2 separate regions of the Homo sapiens genome follow, and region 2 is linked to region 1. Evidence: promoter capture Hi-C in human tissues and cell types (Jung and others, 2019). All regions are on one chromosome and are shown on one strand. The core of a region is centred on a gene start or on the middle of the fragment in contact, and the rest is flanking DNA. Distances in the headings are between cores, read along the strand shown.

What was found. Contacts are between HindIII fragments. The study calls those that stand out against the background at their distance.
Region 2: a contact is called between a fragment that was not itself captured here and the fragment with the promoter of PCSK1 in region 1, in 1 of the 25 tissues and cell types used here (pancreas).

What each region holds. Positions count from the first base shown.
Region 1 is chr5:96,430,922-96,435,760 of GRCh38, reverse strand. PCSK1 (proprotein convertase subtilisin/kexin type 1) reads left to right here and starts at 2,513. Exons shown (of 14, transcript NM_000439.5): 1 at 2,513-2,898. The coding sequence starts at 2,719. The region is part of intron 4 of LOC101929710 (a long non-coding RNA gene); the gene reads right to left. It also overlaps a transcript of CAST not described here and the pseudogene LOC102724070. RefSeq lists silencers at 1,361-1,480, 1,342-1,636. The HindIII fragment of the contact is 6,406 bases long and covers 1-3,326 here.
Region 2 is chr5:96,367,776-96,372,614 of GRCh38, reverse strand. All of the region lies in intron 3 of LOC101929710 (a long non-coding RNA gene), which reads right to left. It also overlaps a transcript of CAST not described here. Among named protein-coding and RNA genes, the nearest start is that of PCSK1, 63 kb to the left of the region's middle. The HindIII fragment of the contact is 8,912 bases long and covers 1-4,839 here.

The DNA.
Region 1 (4,839 bases), core at 1,264-3,763:
TGGGCAGTTGTGAGCATCATGAAAGGCATGGCAATCACTTGATAACTTATAATGGAAACACGTCCTCTTAATTTCTGGAGTATCCGGTTTTCTATATAAATTAATCACATGAATCAAATGCTATTAAAACCAACTTAAGGGTGATAATTGGCTCTTCCAATTTATAATACGAAATATAACACTGATGGGCCTGGAGGTCACTACCATGATCTACAAATCAGGGTAGGACTAGCCCTTGAAACAAAAAGTTAAAATGGATTCTAAATCTACTTGCACCTCTAGTCTTGGCAGAAATTTATTTCTTCTGCATGCCAGAAGTTCTGGCAAAGAGGTTCATAGGATAAAAATCAGACAATAGCAGATTAACTTACTGATATCTGTATTGTGTGGATGAGGATATTATCTTCTTTTTGTGAGAGTTTACTTGGCCCTGTTAGGTATATAAACCAAATGTTTATTCCAGGCTTCTATGGTGCTCCATTTAAGACAAATGCCTCATTAATGAGAGAGACACGGACCCTATTGCCAACACTCTGCCAAACTGATTTACTTGAACAATAATAAGAAAGGGACAAATATGTTCCTCCTCTGACACATCTACCGTTATAAAACATTTGCCCTGGGCTTCTCTTGCCTTGCTAGTGCACAGTTAGTGTCTGTCTGCTGTGAGAATGAAACACCCTTGAGAGCTTGAGGCCACAACTCAGGCCGAGGTGTGAAGGGAAAAGAAGACAGCTTACCCAGCCATCAACATTCACACATGTGGATTTACAGAACAGACAACAAAGCTATCAATCGGAGCCCATTCCATTTCATCTCATGTGAGTTACATTATTGTAAAACACTTAACCATGTCACATGGCTTATTAACATTGGCATTTGATTTTGTAAAGATGCTTTATGTTTAAAGAAATTATGTAGTGCACATTTCTGCAAACGTGGAGGCAAATGAAAAATTAGCACTACAGAGCCTGATCCTCCACCAAGTCTTGTCTCATTTGCTTCTTGTAAGGAACATCTCTTGCTTCCTTTCTCCACTTGTTTATATGCTTTCTTTCCAACCTTCTCCCCTTTCTTCTATTTCTACAGCATAGATCGCGCCCTCGGGCGGTTGAGCTTTAAAAAACAACAACAACAACAACAAAAAAAAAAACAAACTTCCCAGGTGCAGCATACTCTCTCAATTCCACCTCCCGGCGATTTTACTTTTGGCCTGAGTCCAACACGTTCCCAAGAGCTGGACACAAGTTGTCACGATCATGAACCTAACCACACTCCCCCCTGCGGCCAATTTCCTATTTTGCTGTTCAAAAGAGGGAAATGCACATATCAAAAGGAAAACAGCTTGGTGCTGGCCAGCTGCAGAAGGGTGGAGGTCTTTGGTGCTCAGAAGAGAGAGCAGCTCCTGCGGCAGTCCTGCGTGTGTCGCTGTCCAGACCTCGGTGCTGAATACTAGGCACTGGTATCTCCCGCCAGGTTCAATCCCTCAGGGTTCGAATAGGCTCCACCATGGGAGACTGAACTCACTTCCCTAGGGTGAGGGGTGGAGAATTCATTTAGATGTTTCCTTGCTCTCCTCCCACAGGAAACCATTTTTCCACAAAGAGGCATTGTGCATTTTATGGGAAAGTAATGGCACAGCTCCAGCTCAGCACCAAAGTGAAGAGCTCTACTGAGGCACAATGGAAAGTCGAGGTAAATAAAAACTGCTCTTTCCCTCCCTGAATCAACACAACAGCTTTTGGGATCCTAGATCCCCTTGTTGACGAATTCTTAAAAATATGTTTTTTTAAAATCACATGATTAATCATTTTACTGATAAACACCCTAAAAGGTGGTGGTGGCGCTGGCTTTGCAATATCGGAGTATAACTACTGATATTGTTTTACTGAGGTTGAGAAACAAAGGGGAGGAGGGAAGTAAACTTGTAAACTAAGGTGGCTTGAATGGTTAAAAATTCATTTTTAATAGTATTGCTTTAACATAGACATGCTAATTTTCTCAGACAATTTAGAACAGAATTGGGACAGTAGTAGCTTCCCTTCTTCTCCTTACTCTCCTAGCCTCTCTCTTTGAAAGACCTAAGAGCCTTGTTCTTCATAGCAGGTGCTGATGCCCAAAGGGCCATTATAAGAATCCTATAGCCTCCCCCCCTCCCCGCCACACACATGAGATAATAAAGTAAATACAGAGAAAATGGATGGAAGGGAGGGAAAGCACTCCCAGCCTTTGATTCTTGGTAGTTATGTTCAAGTGGGGCACTTCTCTTTGAAAAGTGAAAATGTTTCTCACGGTACAGAATTTATGGGCAGACAAGGAGCAGACTTAACTGATCCCAGCAAACAGTTCCTTCCTTTTCCTAATCCCTGGCTGCTTATTTTAGCCGCTTCTCCGCCCCGCCGGGAATACCATTCGGATCTTAGTCCAGGTAGATCTGACGTCAAGAGATGGCTTTCGTCGATTTGACGTGTAAACACTCATTTCCATTCTGGCTGGGAAGGGCTGGGGCTCCACTCAGCCTGGAGACCGAAGCGCTTCACTGAGCGCTCGCCGCCGCCCAGCCTCTCCTCTCGCGCCTCCTAGCTCTTCGCAGAGCAACCAGGAGCCAGGAGTGGTCTAGAGCCCGAGGGTGGGAAGGGGGAGTCTGTCTGGCTTTTCTCCTATCTTGCTTCTTTTTCCTCTTCCCTTCCCACTCTTGTTCAAGCGAGTGTGTGAGCTATGGAGCGAAGAGCCTGGAGTCTGCAGTGCACTGCTTTCGTCCTCTTTTGCGCTTGGTGTGCACTGAACAGTGCAAAAGCGAAAAGGCAATTTGTCAATGAATGGGCAGCGGAGATCCCCGGGGGCCCGGAAGCAGCCTCGGCCATCGCCGAGGAGCTGGGCTATGACCTTTTGGGTCAGGTAAGAGTTTCCACTTTCAAGAAACTTTCTGGGGCCCCAGGGGACTGGCGGGACTGGAGCGCGGTCTTCCAAGTGGGAGCCCCAGGTTGCACTCTCCAGAGCCCAGAGTAGCAAAGAGCAAGGAGCTGCTCCAGCCCTCGCCCCTGTCGCGCTTGGAGAGAGAGAAAGCTTGCATTATTTACTGTTTAGGCTGGGCGCAGCCAAGCAGAAGGAAGCCGCTGCAGCTGGGTAGGGCTTATGCTTACTGTTGGCCGCTCTAGAATTGAAATCCGTTCCCGCGCGGTTTGGAAGAAAAATCCCTCCACGCTTGTTCAGGGAACTTGAGATACACTCAAGCTCTTACCAACCAAGCGCCCCCGGGAGAAGCAGTGCGCTCCATCCCCCGGGACTGAGGCGGTCTGCGTCAGGAGCCGGCTGTTGCCTTCTTTTCAATATGGCAGCATCAGATCCAAGTCCTGATGCAAGGGGCTAAGCAGGCTTGGGGCTGTCCGCCCTGGCAGCCTGTAAGGGCACGCCCAGGGCATTGGAAGAGTGCCAGCTGCTGGGACTCGCGACCAGGAGGTTGGGAGGCCGCGGAGTAGCCTGGGAAGCTGGGGGGAGAAATGGTGGGTGAAAGACACGGGACCATCTATCCCCGCGACTCTCTAGGGAGCTCCGGCTTTTCACTGGGAACTTATAAAGTCCAAGCTTCATAACTTTGCCCGGCCAGTCCCACTGCAGGGTCGAGATGCCGAACTGACTATGGGGAAGGGATCTATTTCTTTCTTGTTCTTCAGCCAAGTACGTAATCGTTTTCCCGGGAATTTCAGCTTATTGTTGCCTGTCCAAGTGAAGGCTTGGTCGATAGGTAGCTGGTTGGAGGTGGGTGGGCGTCAAGACATTAAGTGGGAGACTGCTTATAGCTGAGCGATTCCGAGGGGACCCTAGGGAGTGTGACTTCTAGTCTAGAGCTTTCCTTTCCTTGGCTCGGAATCAAGCCCTCGCCCCCTGCTTGGGAAGTTGGTCTGCATTGAAGCGTGGGAGGAGGCAGTTGTAAAACATTTTGGCGCGTTTTTTCTGGAGGTGGTGGTTGAGACGCCGCTGGAGTCACGGATGAGTAATCGGCGGGGGCGTTGGCGATTCTGTAGACCGAACCCTCTGGGGAATTCGCCTGCTCTTGCTAGAGGCTTCATTCTCAACTTTATAAACCAAATTGTCTTTGAAATGCCCGAAAGGAAAATCAATGCAGATTGGCTTCCTGGTGTCCCAGCAGCAGATGAGTCTTTTGCTTTTGGCCAGCCCTTGCCCTCGTGCCAGGCTCCGTGTTAGGGGCTGAGGAATAAGAGGAGGGAAAGAAACGCTCTCAAGTAATCAAGAATCTAGAGGAGACTAGCTTAGAGATAAATGATTGCAACTGATTGTAATTTGTGTAATCATAGAAGTTGTACTTGAAGTCTCAATATTCATTGGTTGAAGGAATGAAAGTAGTAGGGAATTCGGGAGGGGTGAATGAAAACTGCCCAAAGGAGAAAACATTTGCTCCGGGAACAGAAGTCAAAGGTTGCCAGGAGCACATAATGAGATCGGAGAAGACAGTCTAGGCATAGAAAACAGCTTGTGGGAAAACAGTGAGACATAATACAGTTTAGTAGTAAGTCTGGGAATTGCACGCAATTATTAGGAATTTTTGAGACCCAAAGAGGGTATGAGTAGCAGAGGAAATTGTGCTGGTGGGTACTGTGGACATCATACAAATCATGTATGACCTATGGGGGTGGACACTGGGGATTTAATTGTGTATTCCTTGAGCAGCTACTGAAAGGCTAAATAGCACTGGTAACCGTGTAGGAGGAGACTGGGGAAGACAGCAAAAACTAAATCTCTCTTCTTTTTCCCACCTGTTAGCTCTAGGCATGCATCTAAACCTAGACCATTCAATGTGAAAACTGCTTTTCAAAATAA
Region 2 (4,839 bases), core at 1-2,500, 62 kb after region 1:
TGGCTATTCCTCAACTCTGGGATCAGGCTTGCTTGTTCTCTGCCTAAGTCCCATGGTATTACATTTATGACCAATGCAGCAGTCCCTGGTGGGTCTGGCCTCCCTAGAAATATTCAGCTCTTTCCCTGGGCCAATGGGTTCCAAATTTCCAAAGTCCTCCTCCTGCAGGTTCTCATGTCTTCCGAGGGCAACCACCATGATGATATCCATTGGCTAGAAGAGCCACCCCTGGCCAAGGTCTGGCAAAATACTGAAGGTCATGGGTATAACTTATATGTAATCAGATTCATGGGCAAAAGAAAAACAAATAAAGGACTGAAGAACAGAGTTCTCAGGAATTTTTTCCAAAATGGAATTTAAAAGGGTGAGGTATATAGCAAGGAACACTGAAGGAGCCACCTGATATTTAACAAACTGTGTTGTAGCAGCCCATAAACCTGGGTTCCAATCCTAGCCATTCTATTTACTACCTGTGAGAACTTACTTAAACTCTGAGAGCTTCAATTTTTCCCATTTCCAAAATTGGGGTGAACGTTGCTTCATGTAATTTACAGGAGAAAACAAATGCACAGCATTTCTGCACAATATTGGTACTTAATAAATGTTAGTTTAAAAAAACAAAGTTAATCAAGGGCAAATTATTGGAAGGAAAAATCAGAAAGTGAGCTAGAGGAGTTTATATGAATGATAACAAAGGCAGCCTGGTATACTGCCTTAGTATTAGAATATAATGTACTTTTAGCTCTGTAATGGTCATAAATCCTGCTGTGTTTAAGGTTTTTTTCTTCTGTTTGTCTTTGGATTTTTAATCCCATTTTCAGCCTGTAAATCTGGAGTGCTTTTAAAGACCAGTATAGACTGGTTGTCTAGGCTCATGATCAAAATTCCTTTTTCATACTTTCAACCAATGGGTATTTATTGAACACCTACTATGTGCCAGATGGTATGATAGGTAACAAGAACCCAACACCCAGAATGGTTCCTTCTTTCCTGTGATTTACAGTCCAGTGAGTGAAAGAGACAGAGAGCCTCCTAATAGAAGATAATGAAAGGAAAGTTTAATTTTGCACCTTGAGCGTTCAAAATACTTCATCTCCATGTCAGTGACAATAAATGTTTCTGGAAGAAGAAAGGAAGAAAGGTAGAGAGGGCAGGAAGTGTGCTATCAGAAAATAAATGTGAATATGCTAAGCCTCTGCCCCATTCCTCATCAACAGTTGACAGCGATTCAAGTAGAGGTCTCCTCCCCCATGGGCTATCACAGGATTAGTACAGCATCTACATGAGGTGGGGAGCTTATTGACTAGCCCTGTTAATGATGACCTTTCTGGAAACTTTTCCAGAACTTGAGTTTTTTAATGCTTTGGCACAATAATGCTTTATCAGCCTTCCTACATAATGAGCTATGGAAATGAGCCAACCATAGAAAAGTGACTCCATTTACTTAGTTCCATGCTACAGATGGCCTAGTGAACACTATGAGCTAATGGAAAACTAACAAATGCTGGTCCAGGTCAACAGCTGTTTCCTTTGTAACTGGGGTCTGCAAGACACAGGTGTATTTCATGGGCCCTTATGTAGACTACCATCTGCTAACGGATGTTCTTCATTTCCTTTAAATGTAAAGATAGGTACCCGGAATTGGAAGTGTGAATGAGTGTATTGTGGACATTAACTTGGCTTCATTTAGGTCTACATAGTTGGGGAGCTCTCCAATTTGAGTTATATCATAAACAGGTGAATCCCTAAGACAGCACCTCAAGTTTACTCACAGTTTCTCTACGGGCAAAATAGGAATTAGATGTGCTTTCTTCTATTGTTTTGCTTGTGGATTTGCTTTACATGTTTTCTCATAATTCCACCACATCAGGTCTCTCTGAAGCAACAGTTGCACAGTGTAGTCCAAGCAGGCAGGCTAGGCACTTACAATCCAAACTCTTCCTATCCCTACCGTGAATATGAAGAGAGCTGGAATAAAGCAACAGTACTGTTGACTTCCAGGCCTACCCCTTACTGTGAATCAGTGCTGCTATGCCTGTGAATTTCAGTTTTCTGTGTATACAGGTTGGATGCAGTTGTGGGGGGTGAAAATTAAAGAACCAGTCTGGCCCTGAAGGGGTGTTTGGCAGCTCCATGTTGCTCTTTAGTTTATGAGGTTCCATATTGCATATTGTCCTCAGTTTGGGACGCTTAAAGTTTCAAGAAAGTAAGAACAATTTCATTCACTACCCTGTTACAGCTGCTTGCTTCTTTTTTGTCTCTCTTACTCCTAGAAATACCCAGAAGTCTATTACAGTCGCTGTTTCATCCCCAGAATCTCTAACAGTGCCTGGTACATACAAAATTCTGGTCCTGGTTCTACTACAGTACTGCCTAATATTGTGTAATCTTAGGCAAGTCAGCAAGACATTTAACTTCTCTGAGTTTGTATTTCTCCATTTACTATTTTTTAAATTAATTATATATAATAAACTATAAAATATATTAATACCTCCTATAATGAGTTTCATATCACAAGGAAAATGGTGATAATCCTTAGCCATTCAGATCCTCTTTTATTCAGTTTGAAATGTAAGAGATTTCCATTTTGAAGTTCAAAACCAGATGAATAGCAGAAATTTCATATTATTTAACCTAAGTCATGACATACATTTTTATTGAGCAGCTACTATGTGCAAAGCATAGCTGTCAGACATTGGGGATACAACAGTGAAGAAAAATAAAACTTGTTATTATTGACTTTACATTCTAATTGAAGACAAAAATAGACTAAGAGATGAAAATATAGTGGGTCATGCAGTGAAGAGAGCTTAGAAGGAAAATAAAACGGAATAAAGAGACAAAGAGTCACTTGAGGGGAGGAGTGGCATACTAAAACAAGGAGAATTGAGTAAAATGTACCTACTGAATGTTGAGACTCTCAGCCACATTTCCTTACTTGGATTTCAGATTTTTGGCAGCTGTGTAATTAAATATCAGAAAGGAGATTAAAAGGTCTTCTCATATTCTTCTACGATCATCTTCCCAAGAGAAAAGATCTAAAGGAATTACCTTTGGCTTTCATTTAACAAAACAACCAGCCAGATCACGTCAGAGTGAATTTTTGCCACACAGCTTCTGAGAAAGCTTTTTGGTCCTCCATAGTTAAATACCAAGAGGCAGCTAAGGGCTGCCAGACCTTCTTCTAAACTTCAGCCATGAATCTGAAGGTTAGAAGACAAAGCCAACAAGCAAAAACAGTAACTTAGAAGAAACAAAGATTTCACAAGGAGAAGAAAACTTCAAAAATGTTTGATATTTTCAGAGACAGAAGAGAAGAAATACTTATAGATATTAAAAAGCTAATTTGGAGAATAAAAAATGAAAAACTCATAAAGAGATTTATGTAATAATCCATCAAGAACTAAGTAAAATTTATTTAAAAGAAAATTAAATAAATATACGAGAAATCAGAAATAGAAAAAATATATAAAATATATAGATAAAAACGCAATATAAGGTCAACATCCAAATAGTAAAAGTCCAAAAAAGAGATATAGAATATTGAGGGTGCATGGATGAAATAATCATTAAATAATTGAAGCGATTATTGAGAAATCATTGTAAAGTTTCAGAATTCTAACCACAAAGAAAAGATCACTTTCAAATGGGTGAGAAAACAGGTTTCATGCAACAGCAATACCAAGCTTTAGGAACAAAATGGAGTAACACTTTCTAAATACTAAGAGAAATTCTTTCCAGGTTTAAATTTCTTACCTAGCCAATTAAGGGTGTGGGTAGAAGGAAATTATTTTTAGACAAGCAAGATTTCAAAAACATTACTTTGCAAAACTTTTCAGAAAAGTAATAGAATAGATATTCTCTCAATATGAAGGAGCAATTCAAGAAAACATAGGATCCAAGGAACAGGAGCTTGTTAAGAGAGAAAACAAGAATCCCAGAGAGATAGTGGACAGAAATACCAAGCTCACAGCTCTGCAGCAGGCTGAGAGATCAGCCACTTCCTACTGGAGCGAATCAGAAGGCTCCAAGAGGAAGAACTGAATGTGTCTGAGATTTACACATGTGGAGTTTGAGAATAATTCTATAGGTTTTTTTGTTTTTTTTTTTTTTTAGATGGAGTTTCACTCTTGTTGCCCCAGGCTAGAGTGTAATGGTGCAATTTTGGCTCACTGCAACCTCCAACTCCTGGGTTCAAAGGATTCTCCTGCCTCAGCCTCCTGAGTAGTTGGGATTACAGGCATGTGTCACCATGCCCGGCTAATTTTTGTATTTTTAGTAGAGACGGGGTTTCACCATGTTGGCCAGGCTGGTCTCGAACTCCTGACCTAAGGTGATCCACCCGCATTGGCCACCCAAAGTGCTGGTATTACAGGAGTGAGCTATCGTGCCCAGCCAATTCTATAGAAATTCAAACAATTTTTAAAAATTGGTAATTAGTAACTCCAAGGAAAAGCAGAAAGGAAAGGGAAGGGAAGGAAAGGAAAGGGGAAAAAAAAGAAAAGTAATTAAAGGATACTATAAGGTTCAGTTATGAATACATTTGCATAATTAGACTATGAAAATGTTGGATACTTATATAATCAAATTATGTAAGTGGGTGAGAAGGACAATGAGGAACATGTTATAAAAGCGTACTAGAGGGGGCGATTTCAAGATGGCTGAATAGGAAGAGCCCCACTCTACAGCTCTCAGCATGAGCGATGCAGAAGACGGGTGATTTCTGCATTTCTAACTGAGGTACTGGGTTCATCTCACTGGGGCTTTTCCGACAGTGGGTGCAGGATAGAGGGTGCAGCCCACCGAGCGTGAGCCAAAGCAGGGCGAGGCATCACCTCA